Linked DNA regions of Homo sapiens: all the other regions are linked to region 2. Evidence: promoter capture Hi-C in human tissues and cell types (Jung and others, 2019). All regions are on one chromosome and are shown on one strand. Each heading gives the region's core, a stretch centred on a gene start or on the middle of the fragment in contact. The rest is flanking DNA. Distances are from core to core; before and after follow the strand shown.

Region 1 (4,366 bases), core at 1,326-3,825, 360 kb before region 2:
GGCCCTGGGTTGCTTTGAGCATGAATCCGGGACACTGTTGCCTCTTCCAGGCAGGAGGTCAGGAGAGACAGGTGTCTGAGACTGCAGTGTGTGGCCAACAGCAGAGAGAGAACAGAGAAGGCGCAAACAAGGTGAGACCCTCTCTCCTCTCCCTGAACGCAACCCCTCCCTGCTCCCACACAAAGACTCAAGTAAAAAGTTTTCATCCAAAACTTTCAAATATTTCTTTCAGTGTTCTCAGATTGACTTGACCAGCCTAAGACAGATGCCAGGGACATCCTCTTCTCTGCCTCTCAACACTTCAGTCAGATGGGAATATGGAAGGATCATATCCAAGAGGATCATATTTTCTGAAGCCAATCCATAGATGTCAGGAAACGAACCATCCCAAATATACAGGAGGTAGGGTCACTGCCTCTAAGCCTGAAACTCCAGAGTTAGAAGCTGAACTTAAAGGTCATTCACCCAACACTTGCCTGCCTCCTACAAAGGACACAGATGAGACTGGTGCCCAATCAAGCCACCAGCCTGGAGGGGACTCAGCCTCAGAAGCCTTGATTCCAGGTCAGTCAGGGGTCAGTGATGGCAGCTTCCTGGGGAAATACCTGCATTTGCTCCTGGATGTGAGGCCAACAGGGGTGGAGGGCTCCCACAAGAGACAGCTGGTTTCCCTGAGACACTCTCCAGCTCTGGACAGCTGAGGCACAGATTCTGGGCACCAGGACAAAAGTCAGTCAACTGACCCTGAAGCCTTTTTCCTCCAAAAAGTACAGTCATTTATGTTCTTTTTCAAGAGTTCAAAACAAGGTCTCTTGATTTGTTGGATGGCTGCTAACTGATAGTCAAAGCTTTTTTGTTTTTTAATTCCATGGCCATGTCTTCCAAGGCCATGCACAAGGACCAGGCACAGGGCCCGCCATGGAATATTTTGAAGGTTGATGGGGCCGGACATTGAAAATGAGCAATTCTGCTATTTCCACAGCGAATGACCACTGAGCTGCACAGGCATGTGCAGGAAACTGTGGCCTGGAAGGGCGGAGCAGCGGCCAAGACTAGGGGTGCCTCCCCAAACCCACCCAGGCTCCAACTTCTCCTGTGAAATGCCTAAGAATAGTACATGCCAGGAGCTTGTCGTTATACTAAGATGTCTTAAAAGCAAAAATAAGTCAACGAGTAATCAGCGACTACAGAAACACCCACAGGACTGTGAGGCAGCAGAGGTAAGACACGAGGCCCTTAGCTTGCAGGCCAGGGCAGCTGGATTCACATGCCAGCTCTGCCGCCCACGAGCTGTGTGGCACTGGGCAGGCTGCTTGCCCTCTCCGGGCCTTGGTTTCCTCATCTGTAAAACAGTGATAACACCCCTGTCCCGGGAGTTGTGAGGATTCAGAGATGGCAGACGCACCGAAAGCCTCGGTAGGATGTCTGCCCAGCGGCTGGCCCTCAGCAAACGGTCACTATTTTTATATGCCAAGAAATGCAAGTCTTTGGAGATAAATTCTTGGTGAAATTCAGCTCTATGAGAGGCGGAAGCACATTGGGGTCACAGCTATTCATGTATCATGTGCAAGCTCAGTAAGTGTCCGATCGGGCACGGGAATTCGCCCCGGGACTCCAGGCAAGGCAGGTACTGGCTGGCGCGGATGAGCACTTCTGACGGTCCCTCCAACTGCCAGCCTGTCCCTCGCGGAGCCCAGGGCCTGGAGCACCTGCCGTTTGGAGAATAAAATCAATCACTTTGTCTTGTCTCTCCGTCAAGGGGCCTCGCTCCCCCGTCTCTCTCCTAACTCTCGAGGATGGTCTGCGCTGGGGGGAGGACTCCCTTAGCCTGGGTCAGGGGCTGCAGCGACGCCTCCAGGAAAGACCTCGGCCCGGACCGCCCGCCCCGGCATCTGCCGCCCCCCGGCCCGCAGTCCCGGAAACTCACCCCTTTCCTCTCGGCCTCCTCGTTCAGGGCGGTCACCCAGGCCGCCTGCCACTGGCTCCTCCAGCTGCCCAGCGTCAGGATCCAGGAGAGCAGCGCGTCGGACCCCGGGCGCGGCCCCTCTCCAGGCTCCACCGCCCGCCGCTGGGGCTGGGGTCGCGCCCTGGCCAGCGCCCACTGCGCCAGGTACAGGCCTACCGTGGCCAGGGCCGCGACGAAGAGCGACACCAGCGCGAGCCACTGCGCCTCCCCGAGCCACGAGCCCAGCCGGGCCATGGCCATGGCGCATCCCCGGCCCGCCTCGCCCCAACTTCCCCGGCAGCCCCGGGCCGGAACGGCGGACTCAGGACACGCGCTGGCTGCGGCCACAGCGCGCTGGGGGCGTGGAGGGGGCGCGGCGGGGTCGGAGCCCGGCGAGGAGCGTGGCCGGGGGCCTCTGGGCGGGCAAGCGGGGAGGAAACGCGCGGCGGCCGCGGCCCGGGCTGGGCGCAAGCCCCGCACACCTGCGGAACAGGGGCGCGAGCGGACCCCGCGGCCCGCGCTCCCGACTCGGCGTCTGGGAAGTTCCTGGGCCGCTGCGGGCCGCGCTTCCTCCTGCGCGCGCCGCCCCGGGCGTCCCGCCCGCGGCCCAGCGGTGGCCGGAGGAGGCTCTGGCCGCGGGGCGGGGCGGGGCGGGGGCGGTGCCCGAGGGAGGGGGCGCGGCCGGGCCTGCGGGGGCCGCAGTCCTCCCCCCTGCTCCCAACGCGGCGTGCCCCCGCCCCCCTAAAGGCCCGGCCTTCCCGGCCCCGCCACGTGCGCGCGTCGCCCGCCCCTCCGGCGCCTGCCCGCGGGCCGCGAGGTGACCCGGGCCTCCGGATTCATCAGCCCAACCCCGGCGGCTGCTGTGCGGCTGCTTGGCTTGGCTCGTGTGCGCGCTTGCACAAGTGCGTGTGTGTGCACATGTGTGAGTGTGCGTGTGCACAGCGCGCAGTCAGGGTGATTTCGAGGACTGCCATTTGCTCGCCAGCGAGACAGGATCCAGGCTCAGTCCTCGGAAAGTCCCTGGAAATCCGTGGCTGCCCCTGGAGCCAGGGGCTGGGCCTGCCTTAGGGGGCGTGCTTCTCAGAGGCAAGGAGGGGCTCAGCACCAGGCCCAGGCCCTGCCTTCTGTGTGGCTGTGTCATTCATTCAGTGTGCGGGTGGGGCGGGGGTGCATGTGGTGTGATGTGTGTGGCGCATGTGGTGTGATGTGTTGTGGGTGTGGTGTGTGGTGCACAGGATGGTGTGAGTGTGTATGTGTGGTGCATGGGTGTGGTGTGTGTGTAAGCGTGGTGCATGTGGTGTGGTATGTGTGTTGCGTGCCAGTGTGGTGCATGTGGTGTGTGTGATGTGTAAGCGTGGTGCATGTGGTGTGGTGCGTGTGTGGTGTGTCGGTGTGGTGCATGGGTGTGTGTACGTGTGATGTGTAAGTGCACAGCATGTGGTGTATGTGTGTGGTGTGTGGTGCACAGGATGGTGCGAGTGTGTATGGTGGTGCATGGGTGTGTATGTGTGATGTATAAGTGCAGTGTGTGTGGTGTGTGTGTGTGGTGTGTGTGTGTGATGTGTAAGCGTGGTGCATGTGGTGTGGTGCGTGTGTGGTGTCGGTGTGGTGCATGGGTGTGTGTACGTGTGATGTGTAAGTGCACAGCATGTGGTGTGTGTGTGTGGTGCATGTGGTGTGTGTGGTGTGTATGTGTGATGTGGTGTGGTGTATGTATGTGGTGTGTCAGTGTGGTGCGTGTGTGTGTGGTGCACAGGGTGATGTGAGCGTGTGTGTGTGGCACATGGGTGTGGTGTGGTGCTGTGTGTATATGTATTGTGTAAGTGCGTTGCATGTGGTGTGGTTTGTGTGTGTGGTGAACACGGTGGTGTGTGTATGTGTGGTACATGGATGTGGAGTGTGTGTATGTGTAATGTGTGAGTGCGGTGCATGTGGCGTGGTGTGTGGGTGGTGTGTCAGTGTGGTGCATGTGGTATGGTGTGTGTGTGTGTGGTGTGGTGTGTGGGACATGCCCCTGTGCCCTCCTCTTGCAGAGTGGACGCGGTCCTTAGGGAGTGCCATAGAAACATACTAGCCTGAGATTCTCCGGGGCCTAAAACAGGCCTAAACCATAAAAAAGTGATTCCCCTGTTATTTTCTGCAGCTGTATTAAGGGGACTTGACCTTGAAAGGAATTAGATAGACTGAGCATTTGGCCTTCTCTTCCCTAGCCAGGAGTCTGCTGCGGGGCCAGTGGATGGTCCATCAGAGGGGATTCTGGCCCTGAATCCGTGGGCCCGGATTTTCTTCAGGAAAGAGGAAGGAATGGCACAGCAGCTGGACGGAGAGCCTTTGTGGGGAACAGGATAGGACGCTGTCAGGGAGGTGAAATTAGACGGGGATTGCCCAGGTGAGCTGGGGATGGACCCTTGCGAGCCAGGT
Region 2 (4,115 bases), core at 55-2,554:
CCTGAATTGTTGAGCATGTCCCACCCTCCCGGGACATCCTTCAGTCCCCAATATTTTCATGTTTCAGGCAAGCCTCTATGTCTGTATGTGCAGCAGAAGTTCACTGCGTTTCATTAACGAACTGAGTATTTCCTTAGGAAAATGGCAATCACGTGCAGTGTCTTACATTCCCTTCTCTTGCTCCCAGTCCGTAATTGCTTATCCTCCTGGCATCCAAACTTCGCTCACACTGGAATCAGCTGCAGAGCTTTAAAAATGACTGACGTTGGCTGGGCATGGTGGCTTACACCTGTAATTCCAGCACTTTGGGAGGCCAAGGCAGGAGGATCACTTGAGGCCAGGAGTTTGAGACCAGCTTGGCCAACATAGCGAAACTCCATCTCTACTAAAAATCCAAAAAATTAGCTGGGCATGGTGGTGCATGCCTGTAATCCCAGCTACTTGAAGCCGAGGCACAAGAATTGCTTGAACCCAGGAGGCGGAGGTTGCAGTGAGCTGAGATTGTGCCACTGCACTCCAGCAGTGAGTGACAAAGCAAGGCTATCTCAAAACAAAACAGCTGAGGCCTGGATCTTGCCTGGAGATGCCCTGATGTAACTGGTGTGCCCCAAGCATTAGGATTTTTAAAGCTCTCCAGGTGATTCTAATGGGCTGCAAGTTCGGGAACCACTGCCTTTGACCCTGCTCAGAAGACACCCAGATAAAAGCCATGCCCTCATTCCTTCAAACTTGGGTTAATGGAGCAGCCACACCCCATGGCAGGGTTGCTATGCAATGGCTAAATGAACCTTGTGCCTGCCGGTATTGACAGTGTTCTGAAGTCAGGGTTTTTCTCCTGCATCTTTCCTTTTTCTTTGTAAATGTGGAACAATGCATAAAGACCTATATTGTAATTTAGAAATCTCCAGCAAAGATGGCTATGGGGTCATAGGGGATGGGCTCAGGCTCAAACCCTGATTTCAACACAGACTGGGCAGGGCTGCCTTGGATAAGTTGTTAACTTTCTCTGAGCCTCGGTTTCCTTGTCTGTGAAATGGGGACAATAAAGACCCACTTCAAAGGGCTAGCGCAGGAAAAAGTGTATATGTGACAGGTGGCCATTATTAAATGAATGCAGAATCCCCCCTTATCCTGGATCCCTTCCCTTCACGCCCACCCTGCCACCGGGGCAGTCAGGGCAGTACTCACACAGGCCCACGTACTCCTCAGCAGAGCTGGAGGACAGCAAGGCCAGGACCAGCCCCAGCATGCAGAGCGCTCTGGCAGCCATGACCACCGTGGGCTCCGGGACGCAGCTCAGGACTCGCTTCATGGTCCAGGAGGCCTCATTTATGCACCGTTGTTTGCACAGCTGCTCTGGATTGTTTGCTTGGGGAAGGCTCTCCCTCCTGGCTGTGGCTGCTCCTGTTCTCTCCTGCATGCCTTTGTCAAGCTCCCAGACAGTTTTTCTCTCCCAAAGGGGAGAGGTCAGTTCAGCCCCCACTGTTTTGGCAGCAAGCGGTAAGGGCGGATTCCAGTTCTGGTTCCGGGTCCTCTACTGGGGAGCGGATGTGTGTCAATTGCCCTCCTAGCCTGGCCTGGTGTAGTGTGCAGGAGCCATGTGGGGTGGCAGGACCAGGGTGTGGTGTCCGTTCCATCTCAGCCTCCCAGCCAGAAGCCCTCAGAACACCCCTGGTCCCATGACAAGAGAGCCCCAGGCTGCTTCATCCCAGATCGGCCTCGGAGACAGGCAGCTCTGAGTGAGTCAGGACCCTGCGGCTCTCTCACAACTCCTGAAACACAGAGATTCCTTGTCTTTCCTTTTTGCTTTCTCCCCTAAAAATTAGTAACTACATTTTAATAAGTGGATGAAATGAATTGATTGAAAATATGTTAGTAAAAACATGGTACACATAATTGATTTTTAAAATCAAATAATACAAAAGAGCCTTTCCTATCCAGAGGCATCTATTGATCTATTGTGAACACTTTTTTAGGTATCCTTTCAGAATTTTTCTCTCTGGATCTAAGCACGTTTTTTTGGTTTGTTTTTGTTTGTTTGTTTGTTTTGTTTTTTTTTTGTTTTTTTTTTGTTTTTTTTTTTTGGAGACAGGGTCTTGCTCTGTTACCCAGGCTGGAGTGCAGTGGCACAATCTCAACTCACTGAGACCCCCGCCCTCGCGGGGCTCAAGTGATCCTCCCACCTCAGCCTCCTAAGTAGCTGGGCCACAGGCATGTGTCCAGCTAATATTTTGTATTTTTTTAGAGACCAGGTGTCGCCATGTTGGCCAGGCTGGTCTCAGACTCCTGGACTCAAGTGATCTGCCTTCCTTGGCCTCCCAAAGTGTCAGGATTACAGGCATGAGCCACTGCACTCGGCCACATTTTTAACACAAACAGGAACTGACTCTCCACCTTTGCCCAGCGTGCTCTTTTAAAAACTAAAGACTACATCTCAGGAATTGTTTTATAACAACATATCAGATGAGACAGCGATGATTCTATCCATTTTCCAGAGGAAGAAACTAAGACTCAACATTTCCGGTGCCTATCAGAGGTTACTCCAGTGTCCCTGGTATAGCTGGTATTTAACCCACTCCCAGGACCCTAAGCCTCCGCCCTCGGCATCCGCAGCATCCCCCAACCCCCCAACCTCCTGCAGTGGACTGGCTGGTAGTGGGCAAGAGACTAATCTCATTCCAGGAAAACGGGCCCCTAGATTTTGTGTTCTCCGTGTTTCTTTTCCAGGGAGGCATTTTGATGACCCCCACTGGCCCTTCCAGGAGCCTCTGTCTGAAGGGTGGACTTGGTTTATCACCCCGAGAAATGGGAGCGCCTGGCTGCTTGGATTTAGCCTGCAGCTGGGGTCCCCGGTGGTGTGTGCAGGGCGGCCTTGAGCCTCCAAGGGTGCATCCACAAACTGCCCTTCCCCGAGTGACCCATGGGAGCTCGATGGCGTACGTGCTGAGCACCAGGATGTGTCCTGCCCTGTGACTCCCAGGCCCCGCCCTTGCGCTCAGCACGCCCTTTGTGGATGGATTTGAGGGCCCCTGGCCTCTGATGTGCCACTCCCGCTGAGGCCAGCGAAGGAGGAAGAAGGAAAGAGCGTTGCCTGCCTTGTTTTCGGGGCACTCACTTTTTCTGGGAGACAGCGGACCCAGGTTCATCAATGGACAGCAGGATTTTCATGTTATTAAAAAGGTCATTGTAGGGGAAATCCCTGGGGGATCTGGTGAGATCTCCCTGGGGGATCTGGTGAGATCTCCCTGCCTTCCCACTGCTCCTAGTACCCAGAGGCCAGGCCAGGTCGTGGTGCAGGGCTGAGTTCCAGGAGGGTGCAAACACCCCAGGAACAGACTGCTGCCCCTCCGGCCCTCATGACCTGCTGGGGAAGGACCCCCGCAAGGAGCTTCTGCAGGTGCTGTGGTCTCCACCTGCTGCACTCAAAATTGCCTGGAGTGGGGAGAATATCAATGCCTGGGCCCCGCCCTGACAGGTGGTTCTGTCGCCTGTGATTCTTCTCTGCGGCCAGCACCGAGAACCCTGCTGGGGTTTGCTTCCGTTTAACTAGTGAATGTTGACTGAGCTCCTACTGCCTACACCCAGGGTTTAGGGCTGGGGAAGGAATAACAAAGGTGACACATTCTTGTCCTTGAAGAGTCCCCCCGCAAAGGGAGACGGGATCATGTCAGAGTTAAGATGGTGAAGCCAAGACTAGGTTCTGTGCTGCCTGACCTTGGGCAAGTCACGTCCCATCTGTACCTCAGTTTCCCTACATGTCACAGGGTGCTCACCCCACAGGACAGCATGAAGTGGTGCTGCACAGCCCAGCCAGGTGCCTGGGACACACACTGACCACCTGCCGGGTGTGCTGGATCAACCATGATGGCAGAGGAGAGGATTCCTGGTCCCGGCTCTGGTAGGAGCAAAGGCTGTGGCAAGGGGGCCAGAGCTGGGTCCTGTCAGGTGGAGACGCACAGGCTTCTCAGAGAAGGGGGATTTGGGCTGCACCTCTGGAGAGGTCAATGGGGAGGCCCGTGTGTGTCCCCTCTCTCTGTTCTAGGAGCCCCCTCCCCAGGAGCCCTGGGCTCTGTACAGGAACAGAGGATGGCATGGGAGAGCCCAACCTGCCTTCC
Region 3 (3,883 bases), core at 1,324-3,823, 500 kb after region 2:
TAGGGTGGATGCGTCAGGTTATAAATGACCCTGTCTCCTTTGTTCGGTGTACTCTCATGGCAAAACTGCTGGTGAGTGTACCTTTTCTACAGGAAGTAAAAATGGCCTTACTAAATAAATTAAATTATGTCCAAGTGCTATTTCTTTATGGCACCGGGAGCAAGCATTTAAAAGACTTCCATGTCACAGGTAGGTGAGAGACAAATGGTTGCATTATTTTGAGTTTCTGATAAGCCTTTCCAAAGGAGACAATCAGATATGCATCTATCTCAGTGAGCAGAGGGGTGACTTTGAATACAATGAAAGGTAGGTTTGCACTGAGCAGTTTCCAGCTTGAATTTTCCTTCTAGTTTTTAGGGATTTTAGGGGCCCAAGATATTTTCCTTTCACATTTCCCCCCTTTTCGTCTTTAAAATCTTTTGGAGAAAGCAGTTTAGAAGAAAATGGATCTCTGATCTTAGGTTTTATGTGATTTCTTATGGCTAGGACAGTTTATTCCTAGATGGGCAGGTCCCAAAAGCTCCTTTTCAGCATGTTATGAAGTCTCATGTCCTGTGAAGAGAAAATAGGGGGAGGAAGGGAGAAAAACAACAACAAACAAAAGAACAATCCTGAAAAATTCATATAGGCCACATTACTCTGAAGTCTATACATCAGTAGGCAGGTATGAAAGTGGCTTATGTATGTAAATATGTTGCTGTTACTTTCTTCTGAAGTTTAAGTTATCTGGTTTCAGTTCACAGGGCTTTAAGAAAAAACAGCTTAGTTTTCAGTGATTCCAAATTAGAAAAAAAATTGAAAAAAAGAAGGAAAACAATTTAAAAACATTATTTTCTGTAATGAGTATACCAAATTGTTAAAAGTATACTAAATTGTTAAAAGCTGTCAATAGTTTAAAAGAAAAGTCTTAAGACTCTGAAAAACAAAACAAAGGATCAGCAAACATTTTAAGCAAAAAGTCAAAAAGATTAGTTCAGTCCATACAGGTAATTCCTGTTCTGCTTGATACTCATGAACATTTTAGCTCTCTATGAGTCCTGAAAGCTTTTCCTCTATTCTGATGTCACAATCTCCAAAGTTATCAGAAACCTGCATTGAAGAGCACCTGTTAGAGTTTTATAGCTGATTATAAAACCATCATTTTAATAGGACCAAAATAAGACAATTGTTCATGAATGACAAAAAATTTTAGGACAGCCATAGTCAAAGACACAATTGACAAGGAAACTTGTTACCTCTATGGCACACAATAATTTTAACATAACAATTATGATTATTTCTGATAATGTACACTAAGTTATATCAGAATTATAGGAGTTTCCCAAAATTTTGGAATACATACCAATAACGTATTTATACAAATACAGCCCAAAGAAAACCCAACACCATTTCATATTTGACAATGCTTCCTGTATACTTTTTGTACTAAATAAACCAAATTATGTCATTGTTTGGACTTTAGGGAACCTAATATCTTAAAGGATTAATTAGGTCAGAAAAAGACATAATTTATCATTTGATTTTGGAAAGTTTGTCAAATATGAAAGGTTTAAGACACTTGATATCACAAAGTAGGATCCCAGGTCATTGTAAGTCATTCATGCTGGGCATGGTAGCTCATGCCTGTAATCCCAGCACTTTGGGAGGCTGAAGTGGGCAGATCACCCAAGGTCAGGAGTTCAAGACCAGCCTGGCCAACACGGCGAAACCCCATCTCTACCAAAAATACAGAAAGTAGCTTGGTGTGGTGGTGGACACCTGTAGTCCCAGCTACTCGGAGGTTGAGGCAGGAGAATTGCTTGAACCCATAAGTTGGAGGTTGCGGTAAGCTGAGATTGCACCACTGCACTCCAGCCTGGGCAACAGAGCAAGACTCCATTTCAATAAAAATAAAATAAGTCATTCACTTAACCAAAGTGATAACAAGGATTTCAGGAAAAAGGTGAAAACCTTTATTCTTTGAGAGAGGAGACTTAATTTTCCAAACAATAATCCCTAATAAAAACAGCATGAATCTAATTAAATTTGTTGTTCAAAATTTTATAAACAATCTATAAAATTTTAATCTTGATCATAAGATATAGCTTCGTATGCCTTTTATACCCTTTATAACCTTTATTAAAGAGCCAGTTAATGCTTCAAGAAAACCTTGTTAATCTGACACAGGGGCCCAAATGCTTGTCTTGCATCAGTGTACCTTTGATATTAATGATTAATTTATAGATAAATTGAACTTATTTTATCTTTCAAAATTCGCTCTTACAATCTCATGCACCCACCTCTTCCACAATAGTCTCTGGGCCTTGAGGAGTTGAACAGCTTTAATTTTTTACTCTGTGTCTCAGGAATGAGTTTATTTTGACTGGCATCTTCTATGGGCCTGTAGATGAGGCTTCAATTGCTGTCAATGTTTAAGACTTAGCAGGACTAGGTGTCCTTTTTAGACCCAGGAGTCAAAGCCCTGTAATTCAGTGTCACAAGCACTTTAAAAGCACATACAGGAAGATACGTGGATGTAATAAACTTAATTTAAAAAATTTTTATCCCAGTTTTTTTTCCTAAGCAAACCAAAACTTAATAATGACAACTTGATCATATTAAAGTTTCAGGTTTTTTTTAATACATATATCCTCTTATTGAGACTTAACACTGACTGTTCATGACATGCTTGGACTTTGTTTTGTCCTGAATATTCCTCCTTCTTAAACAACCAGTCATTTTATTTTAGGACTAAATTTACCATAAAAAAATTATTTCTCTTTAAGCTTTCTTATGACAAAAAAAAACTATTTTTATAACTTTATCTCTGTTTTTATTTCCTGATTCCTTTTACCCTGTTGTATACATAACATTTAAATAAATTTTGAATTAGACAAAACTTGTTTACCTTTTCTAAAAAGGACACAGTTTTTTTTAGCAAAAATGTTTTCCTACAATATATATTTATTGGAAAATACCCAAATAATGCAGTATCTATTATTTAATTTTTTTGAGACAGTTTTGCTCTTGTCACACTGGCTGGAGTTCAATGGTGCTATCTCAGCTCACTGCAACCTCTGCCTCCTGGGTTCAAGCGATTCTCCTGCCTCAGCCTCCTGACTAGCTGGGACTACAGGTGCACACCATCACACCCAGCTAATTTTTGGGGTTTTGGGGATTTTTTTTTTTTTGAGATGGAGTCTTGCTCTGTTGCCCAGGCTGGAGTGCAATGGCATGATGTGAGTTCACTGCAAACTTCACCTCCTGGGTTCAAACGATTCTACTGTCTCAGCCACCCAAGTAGCTGGGATTACAGGCACCCACCACCACACCCAGCTAATTTTTTGTATTTTAGTAGAGACGGGGTTTCACCCTGTTGCCCAGGCTTGTCTGGAACTGAACTCAGGCAGTCCACCCACCTCAGCTTCCCAAAGTGCTAGGACTACAGACGTGAGCCACTGTGGTGCCCTGCCTCAGTTATTTCTTTATAGCAATGCAAGAAAGGACAAATATAGGATGGACTTGAGAACAGTAGACCTTATTACCTCATGTGGTTGCTATGAGGACAAAATGGGTTAATATTTTTAAAACACTAAAGGCAAGTCCTGGCACACAAGTTTCTATACCTGCTTACTAAGTAACCATTTTCCTGCTCTGCCATCCTTTGTGAAGTACCTTATGGGCCAAAATGGTGCTGAAGCACCAGCCATTATGACTGCATGACAGGAAGGAGGATAAGGCACAATATTTCCCCTCACACTTGGAAAAACAATTTTCTAAAATTAGGATTCCATCACCAAGGAGAAACATTCATTTTACTACACACTGCTGTGAATTTATCTCACTAAATAATGCTATTGTCTTTGTCCATTTTCTGTTGCTTATAACAGAATTCCTGAGGCCG

The links. Contacts are between HindIII fragments. The study calls those that stand out against the background at their distance.
Region 1: the fragment with the promoter of C2CD2 here is called in contact with the fragment with the promoter of TFF3 in region 2 in 4 of the 25 tissues and cell types used here (H1 embryonic stem cells, IMR-90 fibroblasts, lymphoblastoid cells and 1 more).
Region 3: a contact is called between a fragment that was not itself captured here and the fragment with the promoter of TFF3 in region 2, in 1 of the 25 tissues and cell types used here (IMR-90 fibroblasts).

What each region holds. Positions count from the first base shown.
Region 1 is chr21:41,951,443-41,955,808 of GRCh38, forward strand. It overlaps C2CD2 (C2 calcium dependent domain containing 2), which reads right to left and starts at 2,576. Exons shown (of 14, transcript NM_015500.2): 1 at 1,928-2,576. The coding sequence starts at 2,206. RefSeq lists an enhancer at 1,548-2,322 and a silencer at 2,199-2,868. The HindIII fragment of the contact is 14,094 bases long and covers 1-4,366 here.
Region 2 is chr21:42,314,105-42,318,219 of GRCh38, forward strand. It overlaps TFF3 (trefoil factor 3), which reads right to left and starts at 1,305. Exons shown (of 3, transcript NM_003226.4): 1 at 1,189-1,305. The coding sequence starts at 1,270. RefSeq lists enhancers at 2,405-3,024, 3,025-3,643. The HindIII fragment of the contact is 18,141 bases long and covers 1-4,115 here.
Region 3 is chr21:42,812,776-42,816,658 of GRCh38, forward strand. No RefSeq gene overlaps it. Among named protein-coding and RNA genes, the nearest start is that of LINC01668, 35 kb to the left of the region's middle. The HindIII fragment of the contact is 5,053 bases long and covers 48-3,883 here.